Regions from separate parts of the Homo sapiens genome. Here all the other regions are linked to region 4. The links are contacts of gene promoters, found by promoter capture Hi-C in human tissues and cell types (Jung and others, 2019). All regions are on one chromosome and are shown on one strand. Each heading gives the region's core, a stretch centred on a gene start or on the middle of the fragment in contact. The rest is flanking DNA. Distances are from core to core; before and after follow the strand shown. Region 1 overlaps PRKCB (protein kinase C beta). Region 2 overlaps PRKCB (protein kinase C beta). Region 3 overlaps PRKCB (protein kinase C beta). Region 4 holds the start of CHP2 (calcineurin like EF-hand protein 2).

Region 1 (3,667 bases), core at 634-3,133, 180 kb before region 4:
ATATATAAAAATTCTATACGCTGAAAATATTTTATGGAACTTATTAATGTAACAAAGGTAAGTACATCTACATGAGAAACAGCAATTCCTAAGAATCAAAAAATAAAGAATATCTTCCTATTAAAATAATACTTATCCCCTGAAGGCAGCATTCCTAATTCAATCCCACAGGATTCCTCTGAAAACATACCCTGGCCCTTTCCAGCCCACAAAGCCACGCCTGAAGCCAACAGTGCTTGAATATGTTGAAAGAAGCTCCAGGGAATAAAATAAGGGAAAACTAGAGCTTTTAATGTCAAAAAAAAAAAAAAAAAACAGCTTTTTTCCTCAATGCCTAAAAATCAACGTTTCTTAGAAATGCCAGACACTGCAGAAGGCAAAGTGTCCCTAGAGAGAGGCCAGGCAGAATCCCATTCACTCCTCACCATAGCTATCTAATATCAATTCTCTACACGTGACCTAACTGAAGAAGGAAAAGCATTTTATACCCAGCTGATAATAGACAGAACCAAGCAAGTCCAGGAAGGAAATCCTCCATTGATCAAAGGGAAAGTTTCGTAAAAAGAAAGTCAAATGGGTGGATGGATGGATGGATGGATGGATGGATGGATGAGTGGGTAGAAAATCAACAAACAGAAGATGATGGATGGATGGATGGATGGATGGATGGATGAGGTAGGTGGATGGATGGATGGATGGATGGATGAATGGAAGGATGGATGGATGGATGGGTAGAAAATTGACAAACAAGATGATGGATGGATGGATGGATGGATGGATGGATGGATGAATAGAAAATCGACAAACAGAAGATGGATGGATGGGTGGATGGATGGATGGATGGATGGATGGATGGATGGATGGAGTGGATAGATGGATAGATGGATGGACGAATGGATGGATGGATAGATGGATGGATGAATGGATGGATGGATAGAAAATCAACAAACAGAAGATGATGGATGGATGGATGGATGGATGGATGGATGGATGGATGGATGGATATCAGTTCACACCACTCTCAAAAGGCTCTGCAAACCAGTCTATAATATAATAATTGAAGGTCTTCTGGTAGAAAATGTTAATTTTCTGATTTAAAATATTATCTTCCCCAACAATGCATGCTCTTTCACCTCATTTTCCTCCCAAACCTCCAAATTATGAAGCCTAACTGTATCAATTAAGAATCTTCTGGCTTGAATTAACAGAAGAGCCAACCATATGCAACTTAACCAAAAGGGGCTCATCAATAAATATCATCCCCAAAATAATAAAGTCTGAAAGAAGGAGGTATGAGTGTCTCAAGAATGACAGTGCTCTCAGTCAGTGTTGCTACAAATCTAGGCACCTGTTCATAGTCATAATGTGGCTGCCATAGCTCCAACAATTATGTCCTCACCTAACAGCCTCCAGAGCAGGAAGAAAGGATGAAAAGAAAGAGTCTTTCCTACATGACCCAAACTGGGTCCAGTGCCCACTTCCAGACCAATCACTGAAAGGGAAATAATCATGGGTCATGCATGCACTGTCCCCTGGGCACATTGCCACCGAACAAAACTAGAAACAAAGAAGGAATCGCCATTGGATGGGTAGCTAATAGCATCTGCTACAGCATTCATTCTCACTTCCAAATCCCAGATACCCACAAGACCCCCTTCAATCAGAACTGCATCCTCGTAATTCTGAAATTCTCCCTCCAGAAAGATTCCAGTAACCCATTCCCTTCATGACAAAGTTTTCCATCTTCATCTCCTTAGCTGTTTCTCAGAGTACTTAAGATTTGCAAGCAACAGAACCCCACTAAAAGCCCCCAGTTCAAGCAAAGGAATAAGTCTGTTACAAGGAAACAGAAACCAGGGAAAGGAACAGCAGTTTGACTTCAATGCAGGATTGTCAGGAACCAAGGCAACTGCTTCCCCCATCCCTCTGGTCCACATGACCTCTGAGCCAGCTTCACTTGTCTGTCTCTCTGAAGATAAGCTTTCTCTATTTTTTGATGCACATTGCATGATTCCTGAGATGCCTGATCCTTCCAGTCTGCTGTTGATGGAGGCTAGCTGGCATTTCTGAATGCTAACTCCCAGTCCCCAGAGAGAGGATCAAGTGGAGCCATACCTGGTTCAGTCAGGGATCAGCAGGAATGCTGGGTCACATTGTTCGAACATAGGTGCTAGGGACTACACCTTGGGGCCTTTTTGCCAAAAAATAGGAAATGCATAGGTTCCTCCCCACCTAGCATCGCTTAGTTTTATTTTACCCATAAATTCTTCAGCATATCTCCACAGATAAGAACAACAAAAAAGCAACCACAATTCCATTATCCCACCCAGTAAAAGCAATAACAATTCTTTATTATCATTTTATATTTCAGTTAATGTTTCCTTCTCCTTGATTATCTCACAATGTTTTCTTTATGGATGATTTGTTTGAATTTATTTCCAAATGAGGTCCACACACTATCTTAGATTGCTATATCTTTTAATTCTATTTTTTTCACACTTCCATGCCATTGGTTTCGTGAAGAAATCAAGTTATTTCTATGTAGAATTTCCTACATATTCTCTGTATTTCCTGTAAATTTGGTTAGATCTTTAGTAATAATATTGCATAGATAGCATTGGCCACTTCTATTTGCATCATATTAGAAGATATATAATGTCTATTTGACTTTCTGTGATATTGAGATTGATAATTACTGAAATTATATGGTGTCTGGGATTTATTTCAAAACATCCAGTATGGAAATGGAGTGAAAAGCATTGGGTGCGGATATGGATGAAAGAGGATTAGCCAAGAATTGATCATTGTTAAGGAAATGCATAGGCTTTCAAGTCATCCTAAAAGGATCTATACAAACTGTCTTTATAGGAACTTCATTATTTTGCACTGGACTCCAAGACCCAGCAGGCCAGAAGGCCGGGAAGTAAAAGGCACCAGCCCTCCCAGAACGACCACCTGACCTCCCCGTCTCGGTAGCACAGCTGGAAAGGAGGGAGGAAGCTTCTACTGATTGGCAGTGCCGCATCTTGCCTGGCACCTGTCCTCTCGCTTCTCTCCTCCCCACTCAGCCTCAGGTTGGCACCTGCTCAGGTCTCTTCTCACACCCTCACCCCAACCTGATGACACTCAGCCTAGCATCAGAACTCCCCACTGGGCTTCTCTTTGCCAAAATCTTTCCCACACAGGGGTCCCTGTCTTCCAGCTCACTCCACGCACATGTCTACCTCAGAAGTGAGCTCAGGCTATTTTAAACTACTGTAGCTGTCTGCCATCTGTCTTGTCTGGAGGCCTCCTGGTCTACTGAGAGGAGAATAGAACTGAATTTGGAAACACAGAAACTGAATTCTGGTCCTGGTCCCACCTTTAGCTCCAGAATCTTGGGACAACCATGGCATCCCTCTTGGAACTGATAAAGAAAACTCCCCTTTGGTTAGCTCCTGGGGCTAACAGCGGCATTAAAGGTGAAAGATAAAAAAGCTGGACAGTAAGGTCTTTGAGCGTGTCTTCACTGACCCCTAACAATGCCAATCACAGCTGGGCATTTTTCAGAAATTAAAGACTTCCTTTACTTATCTGTCAAGACACTCACAGTGCTCCAGGGGATAAGCCCATGCCAGACTGGGTCCATCTCTGGGCACTGAAGCTTGGAAATGGTTACCATGGCAAT
Region 2 (3,822 bases), core at 649-3,148, 130 kb before region 4:
GCTTCCTTTAGCTGAGCCAAGCTGTGCCTTCCGCTGTTTGGTCCAAGTGTCTCAACTCAACAACCTCAAAAGTCACTTGGTATCAGCATCTGTCCTAAGAGGCAGCCTGAAACTAGAGAGAGCATTGATTTATTGGTGAGAACACAGCAGCCCACCAGGGAGAAAGGGATTGCCTGAAGTCCTCCTCTAGGTAGTCCTTGCAAGAACCAAGCTGGGAAAACAAAGAAGGGGACTTGATGCGCTAAAGGAGGAGGGAGAAATGAGAGTTCAGCAAGTCAGATTCTTGCAATTAACTGTCAGATGCAGGTGTGCTCAAGAAAAAACTAGACCTGGGAAGATCATGGGGACCCTGCTGGAGAGAAAAAGGCCAGGACCATACAGCTGCCAGCCTTTGGGCCCAGCACCCCCAGCTGGAGAATCCTTCAAGCATTCTGCCTGCTGGCCACTCAGATAGCTTATGCAGTGCCTTGGTGAGATTACGGAGAAAAAAGGACGCTCTTACACTGTTGGTGAAATTGTAAATTAGTTCAGCCCCTCTGGGAAGCAGTTTAGAGACTTCTCAAAGAACTAAAAATAGAATTGCCATTCAATCCAGCATTCCCATTACTGGGTATATACCCAAAGGAAAACACATCATTCCACCAAAAAGACACCTTCACTCTCATGTTTATTGCATCACTGTCCATAACAGCAAAAACATGGAATCCACCTAGGTGCCCATCAACAATGGATTGGATAAAGAAAATGTGGTGCATATACACTATGGAATACTACACAGCCATAAAAAAAATGAAATCATGTCCTTTGCAGCAACATGGATGCAGCTGAAGGCCATTATCCTAAGTGAATTATCACAGAAAAACAGAAAACCAAATACCACATGTTCTCACCTATAGTGGAAGCTAAACAAGGGGTATACACAGACACAAATATGGAAACAACAGACACTGGGAACTCGGAAAGGAGGGAGAGAAGGGGGTAACGGTTTAAAAACTACCTACTGGGTACTATGCTCACTATTTGGGTAACAAGTTCATTGCCTAAACCTCAGCATCACGCAATATACCCATGTGACAAACTTGCACACATACTCCATGAATCTAAAATAAAAAACAAAATATGTTTCAAAGAATGGGGCATTTTATTTCTATCCTACAAGCATATCTGTCTACAATATTTGCTTTCAGTGACAGAAAGCAAGAAAGCAAGAAAGAAAGCAAGAAAGCAAGAAGGAAAGAAAGAGAGAGAAAGAAAGAAGGAAAGAAAGAAAAGAAAACTCATGCAATGCCCTGGGATTTACAGATTCGTTCCAGAGGCAGCTTTGGAAAAGAAATGGAGTGGAAAGACGCCCATGGCCCCAGTGACCCCCCAAGAAAAGAGAACTTCCTTTCCTTAAGTCCAAGCTGACAGGTAGAGAACTAAGTCAGGCTGAAATTAGGAAAGTGGGAAGGAGGGACATGCACCAAGGAAAGAGAGGGTCTGTGGCTGCTACAGGCAGAGATGAAGGGGACAGATAGAGCATGAGGCATAAAAGGAGATAAATGAAAATGATGATAGGCCCATACTGAGCCCCTGCTGAAGCCAAGAAATCTGTTCAACTCATAACACGGCTGGGCACGGTGGCTCACGCCTGTAATCCCAGCACTTCGGGAGGCCAAGGCAGGCCGATCACTTGAGGTCAGGAGTTCGAGACCAGCCTGGCCAACATAGTGAAACCTCGTCTCTACTAAAAATACAAAAATTAGTCAGGCGTGGTGGTGCGTGCCTGTAATCCCAGCTACTCAGGAGGCTGAGGCAGAAGAATCGGTTGAACCCAGGAGGCGGAGGTTGCAGTGAGCCAAGATCATGCCATTGCACTCCAGCCTGGGCGACAGAGTGAGACTTCATCAAAAAAAAAAAAAAAAAAAAAAAAAACACCTAACACACCATAGTCCAACCCTCGCAGTGACTCTAAGAGGTAAAGATGACGTTGAATGTTTTGCCCAAAGTCCCACAGACAGGGATTTGAGAAGAACTGAGTCTCCTAGAGTAAAAGAATCAAGGAGAACCAGGCAAGAGAAGCCTCTCTCAAGAAAAGCCTTGATCCATCTGCAAGTCAAAGGAAACTTTCTTAGCACAGCCAGACTAATGCCAACCAACAGCAAAGATGATGGTTAAGGATACTTCTTGCTGTGATGCTTAGATTTGGATCTCAGCTCTGTGACCTTCAGCAAATCTACTGACCTCTTAGGACCTCAGTTTCTACAGCTGTAATACAACACACTTGTCTCAAAGAGTTGGTTTGAGGATTCAAAGAGAAAATAAATGTAATTTATTAGCACATTTCCAGCACATGGCAATCAATCAATGAAAGTTTGTTGTTGTTAATGTTGTTAGTATCACAATCCTCAAACCTCCTGCCGCCCAATATCGAGTCAAAAAGAAATACACTAAGGCCAAGGCCACCTTACTACAAGATCAACCTGGTGATGGCTCACAGGATTTTTAAGAGATCTAGAAAGACATCCAAAAAATATTTCCCCGCCAGCTTCCTCGTGTCTGAAATATATATTTTCCAGCACACAGTGGCTTTCATTTCCCATTTAAAAATAAATCCAGTGCAAATACAGATTCACACTAGGGGAAGGAGCTGGGTAGCTTGGAAATCAGAGTTGAGAGTGAATCAGAAGAGAATGCCAGAAAAGGGGGCAAAGAGGGGAAACCAGCTGTGGATAGGCCAGGCACAGTGGCTCATGCCTGTAATCCCAGCACTTTGGGAGGCCAAGGCAGGTAGATCACTAGGTCAGGAGTTTGAGACCAGCCTGGCCAAGATGGTGAAACCCCATCTCTACTAAAAATACAAAAATTAGCTGGGCGTGGTGGCGGGCGCCTATAACCTCAGCTACTCGGGAGGCTGAGGCAGGAGAATGGCTTGAACTAGGGAGGCGGAGACTGCAGTGAGCCGAGATCATGCCACTGCACTCCAGCCTGGGTGACAGAGCAAGACTCCGTCTCAAAAAAGAAAAGAAAAAGAAAAAAAGAGCTGTGGATAGTGGTAAAAAGCCACAGGATCTCCCATCTGCTTAAGAAACAGAATTGATTCAGTTAGTTAAAAAGCTTAATGATTAGTGAATTTCACTCCTAAAGAAATAATAAGAGTAAAGGGTAGCAGGAGAAGGTTAAATCATAGAGTTAGTGTCTGGCATATAGCAGGCTCTAATAAACAACATGTATCATTATTACTTATTATTATCGTTATTGTTAATTCCTTATAATCTTCACAATAACTACTTAAAAGTAGGCATTACTATTATCTTGAGTTTGCTGGCAAGGAAACTAAAATCCAGAGAAATTAAATAACTTGCCCAAGATCATCCATCTTGAGAACCTGGGAGTGCCCTGCACCTATTATATCCATTCAATCATCCATATTTGCTGAACAACTAAATGATCGCATGAACCAAAGGGCTACTAGAATGCCACAAAAGAAAAGGAGATATGGGCTAGGCATTGTGGCTCACACCTGTCATCCTAGCACTTTGGGAGGCTGAGGTGGGAGGACTGCTTGAGTCCAGGAGTTTGAGACCAGTCTGGGCAACACAGTGAGACCTTGCAGCTACAAAAAATAAAAATAAAAAAATTAGCCAGGCATGGTGGTGTGTTCCTGTAGTCCCAGCTACTTAGGAGGCTGAGGTGGGAGGATTGTTTTAGGCCAAGAGATTGAAGCTGCAGTGAGCTACGGTCACACCACTGCATTCCAGTCTAGGCGACAGAGTGAAACCCTGACTCAAAAAGAAAAAGAAAAGGAGATGGTTCAGTTCCCAGGGTGCCCTGGATGTGGTG
Region 3 (3,515 bases), core at 261-2,760, 230 kb before region 4:
TACTCCGGAGGCTGAGGTGGGAGGATCGCTTGAGCCCAGGAAGTTGGGGCTGCAGTGAGCCATGACTGCACCACTGCACTCCAGCCTGGGTGACCTAATGAGACCCTGTTTCAAAAATAAATACATAAATAAATAAAAATATAAAAACTACTATGTATTCCTTTTAAACCACTAAAAGGGAAAACTGGACAAAGAAAGACAGTCCAAGTACACCTCAAACAGCCTTCTTCATGCTCCAAGGTCATATAAATATTACTCTTTGGAGTTTTTTTGTACTTTTATATGGCATCATTTCCACTTTAAACTCTTTGATCCATGTCTAATTTCTTGGAATCTGATGTGAAATGGGAATCCAATTTGCCATTTTTTTCCAAAGAGGTAACCAATTGTCCCAGCATCCTTTATTGAATAATTCATCCCTTCCCCACTGATTTCAAATGCCAACTTTATTATATGTTTAATAATTATATATACTGGGGTCTGTCTTTGGGCCTTCTATTCTGTGCCACTGATCTGTCTTCTAGTATAGCAATATGGGCTTTAATTATAGTAGCTCTGTAATATGTTATATCTTGGCAGGGCAAGTCCACCCTCATTATCCTTATTTTCAACATTTTCTTGGCTATCACTGCATATTTATTCTTCCAAGTAAACTTTAGAATCAGTTTATCAAGATTTTAAAAATACCAATGGAATTTTTATTGGGATTGTATTCAGTCAACCCTCAGCCTCCAAAAAATGATTGGGACTTTGATTGAAATTGTGTTAAATTTAGAAATTAAATTCAAGATAATTGATGCCTTGACAACAATGAGTCTTTCCATCAGGAAATGATTGTCCCCTTGTTGAACTCTTATTTTCTCCATATAAGTCCTACACATTTTCCCTTTAGCATCATCTAAGGGATTCTTTTTTATGCTATTGTAAATTTGACATGTCTTCATTTTGTTTCCCAACTGGTCATTGTTTAAAAATAGGAAAGCAAATAGCTGTGCGCAGTGGTTCATGCCTGTAATCCTAGCACTTTGGGAGACTGAGGCAGGCAGATCACTTGAGGCCAGAAGTTCGAGACCAGCCTGGCCAACATGGTGAAACCCCGTCTCTATTAAAAATACAAAAAAAATTAGCTGGGCGTGGTGGTAGGTGCCTGTAGTAGTCCCAGGTACTTGGAAGGCTGAGGCAGTAGATTGCTTGAACCCAGGAGGCGGAGGTTGAAGTGAGCCAATATCATGCCACTGCACTCCAGCCTGGGCAACAGAGCGAGACTCCATCTCAAAACACAAAACAAACAAACAAACAAAAACAATAGGAAAGCAATAGATTGTTAGCATATTTATTTTAAAGCATTTTTTAAAAAAACTCAAATAGCTTTTGTGGAGTTTTAGTTGCTTCCTTTGAGTTTTCCAGATAGAAAACCGTATTACCCCAAATAATATTTTTATTATTCTCTCTTTTCCCCCTGTCGTAGTTCCATGTTTAACTTTCCCTTTTATTCAACATGAAAGTAAAGGGATGACAGCATAGTCTCGCCCCATCCCTGAGCTTTCCCCAGCTTCACCTCCCTCTCCCTCTCTACACTTCAACCACACAGGAAAGTTTTTCACCTCTACTCAAACAAACTTTTGGAATTTATATTTTCCTTGGAAATTATCCACAGTGTTCTTCTCAACGTGTTTAAATTGTAGCATCTTATCTGGGATGATATTACACCTTTTCTCTTTCTTTGTTTCTTTCTTCATATTGCATTGTTAGGTAGTCTCTCGTTATTTTTTTTCCAGAAGTTTGTGTTCTTTCTTGTCTATTTTTATCTTTCTATCATGTTAAAGAAGCAGATTATGATTATATTTATCAACTCTACCTGGTTTTAGCCTACTTTATTAATTGCTACTTTAACTTTTTTTGTTCTGTGTGTCTGTGATTGTATTGCTTACTTGTATTTGTATTACTTATTGGTTGGGAATGTGAATTCTGGAGTCTGATGATCAGGTGTATATCCTGTGTCTATCATTTGCAAACTCTAAGACTAGGTACACTACCTCATCTTCCTGTACTTCAGTTTCCTCTCTGGAAAATGACAGCAACAATAGGACCCATATCACAGTGGTGTTGTCAGAACTAAATGAGTTATTCCATGCCCAGAACCATGCCAACCATATCATGACTATTCTACAAATGTCAGCTAATATTATCCACTGTTCTTTTTAAAGCTTCTTGAATTGACTGCTCAATTAATTTATTCCCATTCCTCTTCATTAAACATTTAAAGATGTTATGGCTAAAAACCCTCTTTTAAGTACAGTTTTGGCTGCATCCTATGTTTTATATTTAGTCCCATCATTGTATCAAGTTTCTAAGTGGTCTATTAGTATGGTTTTAATTTATTCTTTGACCCAGAAATATTTAGGAAAGTAGTTTCCCCCATTTTCAAGTAGGTGCTTTATTCTACAACCTTTCTTCCAAACATCTAAAATATCAGTTATTCTCTACAAAAAATACAAAAATTAGCAAAGTGTGGTGGCAGGCCCCGGTAATCCCAGCTACCCAGGAGACTGAGGCAGGAGAATCACTGGAACCAGGGAGGCAGAGGCTGCAGTGAGCCGAGATCACGCCACTGCACTCCAGCCTAAGAGACAGAGCGAGACTCTGTCTCAAAAAAAAAAATCAATTATTATCTTATTCATCTTTATCCCCTTTGGAGACAGAAGGGGATAAAGATAGCTCATCTCTAGTCTCCTAGTGTCTACCACAATTCCTGGTACATAATTGATATTCAGTAAATAAATGTTTGGTGAATGAATGAACCAAAAAATGAATATCATCAGTCATAGAAAAAGGAGAAAACATAACCAACTTCATGGTAGATGTAGCTCCTGGATGATCGCCTGACATCCCACCAGCCTGGATATTTGTCAATCCAACCATTGACAAGGTCACTTTAGGTAGGCTTCCAATTACCCACAGAAATGAATAGTCCATCCCCACTGAGGCAGAATCAATAGGCCAAGTGAACCCCAGCATGATGTGCAGAGAAGCTGAGAACAGACTTTGAAAAACCTCATGAGCTTCTGGTGCAGGTAATTCCTTTACACAGTGTGTTTCTGAAAAGTTGTGCAAATCAAATTTCCCATTAACTAAAACACTTTGAAGAAAATAGTAGGGCTGCCTATTTAAAGAAATCAAATCCTTTTGTGACACAAATAAACGCCCCCTCATTTCTATTTGGCAAATTCAGAGTAAGACCAGTTTTTGTTTTCTGTTTTTTTTTTTTTTAAGAAGAGGCAACATTTACTGAGCTACTGAAAAAAATGTACTAGACCCTACTTTCAAACAGGTACCCAGTTAAGAGCCCAGAATCTCCAGATGCTTCATAATTTATTCAATAACCCCTTGCTCTACAAAGGTTGAAAGCCTGCAGCCCTCTGACCCCAGTCTATAGCAAGGCTTTACTAGAACTACAAAATGGGGTCTGAAACTCAAATGCCTAGGGGCCAGGTGAGCAATGAAAATGTCTGACG
Region 4 (3,784 bases), core at 423-2,922:
TATTCACTCAGGGAGCAAAATCACCCCCAGTTGAGAATCACTGATCTATTCCCAACCTCATAGTCAACTGCTCCCCACTCCGACTCCCAACAAACCCACACTCTAACTGCACCCATTCCCATTTCCCAACCAATACCCCAATTATCTGCGCCCCAGTTCCCCAATCATCCCACCCCATCTCTCACACCATTGCATTTAACCATCCCATCCTTCACACATCACATCTCTTGCTCTCGCTTTCTGCCAACCTGCAGCATCTCATGCCTGGAGATCTTCCCATCGCGATCCAGGTCATAGAGCTGAAATGCATCTGGGGAGAGGGTGGGAGGGGGAAAGGAAGGTAGGTCTTCCCTGGCTCTCTTCCAGCAGCCACCTTCCTTCCCCCCACCTTGGAGGAGGGGGGAGGTTGTCAATGCCCTCAGGAAGGGAGTGGGAGATCCCTGGAGCCTGTCCCTGGTGTGGGTACATCTGCATTCTCACTTGTGCAGGTCCTCACAAACTCACAGTGAAGTTTGTTCCTTCTGCTGTTGAGAGGTTCAGGTTTCTTGGGGTCTTGGGTTTCTGTGTCCTCATCTTCTACAGGGCGAAAATGAGCCAAGACCCTGACAAAGCCTGGGAAATCCACTCGCTGGCTCCTGGGGAGACGGGACAGAATGGAAAGAGGTGGTGGTCACCTTGGCCATCACTTTGCCTCCGTCTCTAACCTCCCCTCCCACCCACTCACACACCGGTTTTCCCGCCTTCACCTCCCCACGCCCAGCAAGCCTCACCCATCGGGGAAGAAGCTTTCTATAATTCGGTCTCCCAGGGGGTTCACGGCGAGCGCCCCTATCTGCTGGAGATCCATGCGGCTGCAAAGCCAAATTTCAAAGAGGGTAAGGCAGAGATGCCAGACGGAGGGTCAAAGAGGGACATGGAGTCAGAGAGACAGAGGCCAGAAGTTATGAGGCCGGCTCCCCCTCACCTCAGGTAGCCCTTCTTATTCCTGTCCAGTGCCCGGAACCGGTGGTGCAGGCGGAGCAGGCTGGCTTGGGAGACTGCGGGAAGGAGAGTGGGGTGGGGGTGTGTGACTCTGCAGGGCCAGCTCCAGAAACCCGCCCCAACAGGCCAGGAAGATGGGCCAGAACAGCGGGGGCTGGCTGGAAGGGGCGATCATCCCGGGGAATCAGGGGTTGAGCTGGCCGGGGCGGAGGGAGAGTGACACGACCCCGCGAAGATCCAGGTTCAAGACCCGGGCGGCTCGCAACCTCCCGAAAACCAAAGAACCAAAGCCATCCCTTCCAACCGCCGTCAGCTCTGCCTTCAGCTTCGAGCCGGGCTGGAGGACACCTGGGTGCCTGGATTCCTCTGGACTCCGACCCCGTGAACCCGGATCCTCCCCAGACTTGGAGGCTGGGACCCCTAGGTTAACCCGCCCCTAACCCAGCGATCCCAGGCACAGGGGCCTTGGTCTTCCAGCTCCGGGGAGCCCCGGACCCCAGACTTGTAAGTTCGTCCATCCTTCAACCCAACCCCTTCCCTAGCCCCAGACGCCTGGGTTCGCCCCGTCCCCTCCGCAGCCGCCGACGCGGGCGCACTCACAGCCGGTCTCTCGCCGAATACTGTCCCCGTCGGGAATGACCGCGGCGTGGGAGCTGCGCGACCCCATGGCCGAGCTGGAGGCGGAAGGGCCGGAGCAGCCACCCGGACCCACGCGTTCTCTCCTCCCGCCGGAGAGGCGTGGCCGCCCCAGTGGCCCCAGGGGGACGAAGGCCACAAGCCTGGCGCGCGGCCAAGCTCCAGAACCCCGGCGTGCCTCTCCTCCCACCCGCGACCCGGGCGAATGGAAAACAATGTGCAGGGTGGCGGGTCAGAGGGAGGCTGCGAACAACGGGCTGTTTCAGCTCCGAGATTTTGCGATCCGCACGGGAGAGGCTGGTCGAGTCCCAGGCCCCGCGTTTCCACGCCTCCCCCGGGGCCGGTTCCCACGGTGCGCCCTGACACCTGAGCCACCTCCTCCTTCGCGGGCCCCGGGCGCTCCCAACCCCAGGGCGCTCCCCGGCGTCGACGCTGAGGAAGCCTGGGAGACCTGACCTCCTCTGTAGAGACCACGCCCTGCTGGAAGGCGGGTGGCCTATGGGGAGGGAATCCTGGGGGGAGGGGGGAAGAGGCATCGAAGAACTCCCAAAGACGGGGAAGTGGGGAGGGGCGGCGAGATGAAGGGTGTGCGTTAGGTTAAGTGGAAAGAGCACTGGTTTGGGAGTCCTTGTTGGAATCCCAGCCGTGCCCGTGACTCTGGGAAAGTCAGTAAATCTTGGTTTCATCCCTTTTGTTCGGTTCACATTGCCTTATTGTTGTTTAATTGAGCCAATGCTTAAAATTCAGGAGATTTAACCCAAAATCCACATTCTTGGCTTTTCCTGAGAAATCAGAAGTTCTATCACCACCAGGCCCAGAGCTGTCTTCTGGCCACAGTCCCTCCAAGCCCAATTCACTCCCTTAGGTACCTACTGATCCCGTAGAGCTCCAGACTGGGAATGACTTAGTCCTCTGAACAGCCCTCCAGAGCCATGGGACTCCTTGGCCCAAGAGAGGGTTACAGACATCACTGGGACTAGGCTTAAAGCAAGAATGACAACAAGGGCTCTTGTTTACCACGCTTTGCTAAGCACTTTACGTGCATCCGTTCACACATTCCTTGTAGGCCCTGCTGGGCTGCTTTCTTCTAATTTTACGTGGTGGAGGCTGCCGGGGGCAAGTTGTGAACTAATTATGTAAAGCGTGCATTCTCAGTGCGGTCTCTATCTCACCCCAACGGGGCAAAAAATAAAACATATTTTTTATGTACAAAGCACAGCATACATACAGCACATAAATAGATATACAGTATAGCTGTGATATTGAAATTTCAGGGCAGACGTGGAGGCTCATGCCTGTAATCCCAGCACTTTGGGAGGTAGAGGCAGGAGGATTGCTTGAGCCCAGGAGCTCAAGACCAGCCTAGGCAACATAGTGAGACCCCATCTCTACAAAAGAATACAAAAAAAAAAAATTAACCAGGTGTCGTGGCACATGCCTGTAGTCTCAGCTACTTGGGAGTCTGAGACAGGAGGATCACTTGAGCCCAGGAGGTTGAGGCTGCAGGGAGCCATGATCACGCCATTACACTCCAGCCTGGGTGACAGAGTGAGACCCTGTCTTGAAAAGAAAAGAGGCCGGGCGCGGTGGCTTATGCCTGTAATCCCAGCACTTTGGGAGGTCGAGACGGGCGGATCACCTGAGGTCAGGAGTTTGAGACCAGACTGACCAACATGGAGAAACCCAGTCTCTACTAAAAATACAAAATTAGCTGGGCGTGGTGGTGCATGCCTGTAATTCCAGCTACTCGGGAGGCTGAGGCAGGAGAATCGCTTGAACCCGGGAGGTGGAGATTGAGGTGAGCCTAGATCGCGCCATTGCACACCATCTTGGGCAAAAAGATCGAAACTTGGTCTCAAAAAAAAAAAAAGAAAGAAAATAAAATTTCATGGGGTAGGGGTGAGGGTGGGGAAATTAAAAAGACTAGGGGAGGCGTTGATAATGAAAAAAAAACAGGTCGAGAAACTCATTTGTCAAGGGACAAACACTAGAAGTGTCCACTTTTGAAAGTATCTTTAAACCGTTTCCCCCATCATAATTGCACATACATACACAAATTTCCCAGGGGGGAAAACATGCAAGCAGTTCATTGCAAGGGCTCAAGTTCATATCCACCCTGGAGAGAGAGAAGCTGAAGAAACAGTCTATCCTCCAGCCCCAGGCAGAG

Evidence for each region. Contacts are between HindIII fragments. The study calls those that stand out against the background at their distance.
Region 1: a fragment that was not itself captured here is called in contact with the fragment with the promoter of CHP2 in region 4 in 3 of the 25 tissues and cell types used here (dorsolateral prefrontal cortex, mesendoderm cells and spleen).
Region 2: a fragment that was not itself captured here is called in contact with the fragment with the promoter of CHP2 in region 4 in 3 of the 25 tissues and cell types used here (liver, pancreas and spleen).
Region 3: a fragment that was not itself captured here is called in contact with the fragment with the promoter of CHP2 in region 4 in 2 of the 25 tissues and cell types used here (H1 embryonic stem cells and dorsolateral prefrontal cortex).

The regions. Positions count from the first base shown.
Region 1 is chr16:23,930,967-23,934,633 of GRCh38, reverse strand. All of the region lies in intron 2 of PRKCB (protein kinase C beta), which reads right to left. Among named protein-coding and RNA genes, the nearest start is that of PRKCB, 97 kb to the right of the region's middle. The HindIII fragment of the contact is 4,393 bases long and covers 1-3,667 here.
Region 2 is chr16:23,884,499-23,888,320 of GRCh38, reverse strand. All of the region lies in intron 2 of PRKCB (protein kinase C beta), which reads right to left. Among named protein-coding and RNA genes, the nearest start is that of PRKCB, 50 kb to the right of the region's middle. The HindIII fragment of the contact is 8,089 bases long and covers 1-3,822 here.
Region 3 is chr16:23,982,869-23,986,383 of GRCh38, reverse strand. All of the region lies in intron 2 of PRKCB (protein kinase C beta), which reads right to left. Among named protein-coding and RNA genes, the nearest start is that of PRKCB, 150 kb to the right of the region's middle. The HindIII fragment of the contact is 4,596 bases long and covers 1-3,515 here.
Region 4 is chr16:23,752,914-23,756,697 of GRCh38, reverse strand. It overlaps CHP2 (calcineurin like EF-hand protein 2), which reads right to left and starts at 1,672. Exons shown (of 7, transcript NM_022097.4): 1 at 1,582-1,672; 2 at 965-1,037; 3 at 771-851; 4 at 505-635; 5 at 249-310. The coding sequence starts at 1,648. RefSeq lists an enhancer at 1,139-1,784. The HindIII fragment of the contact is 8,876 bases long and covers 1-3,784 here.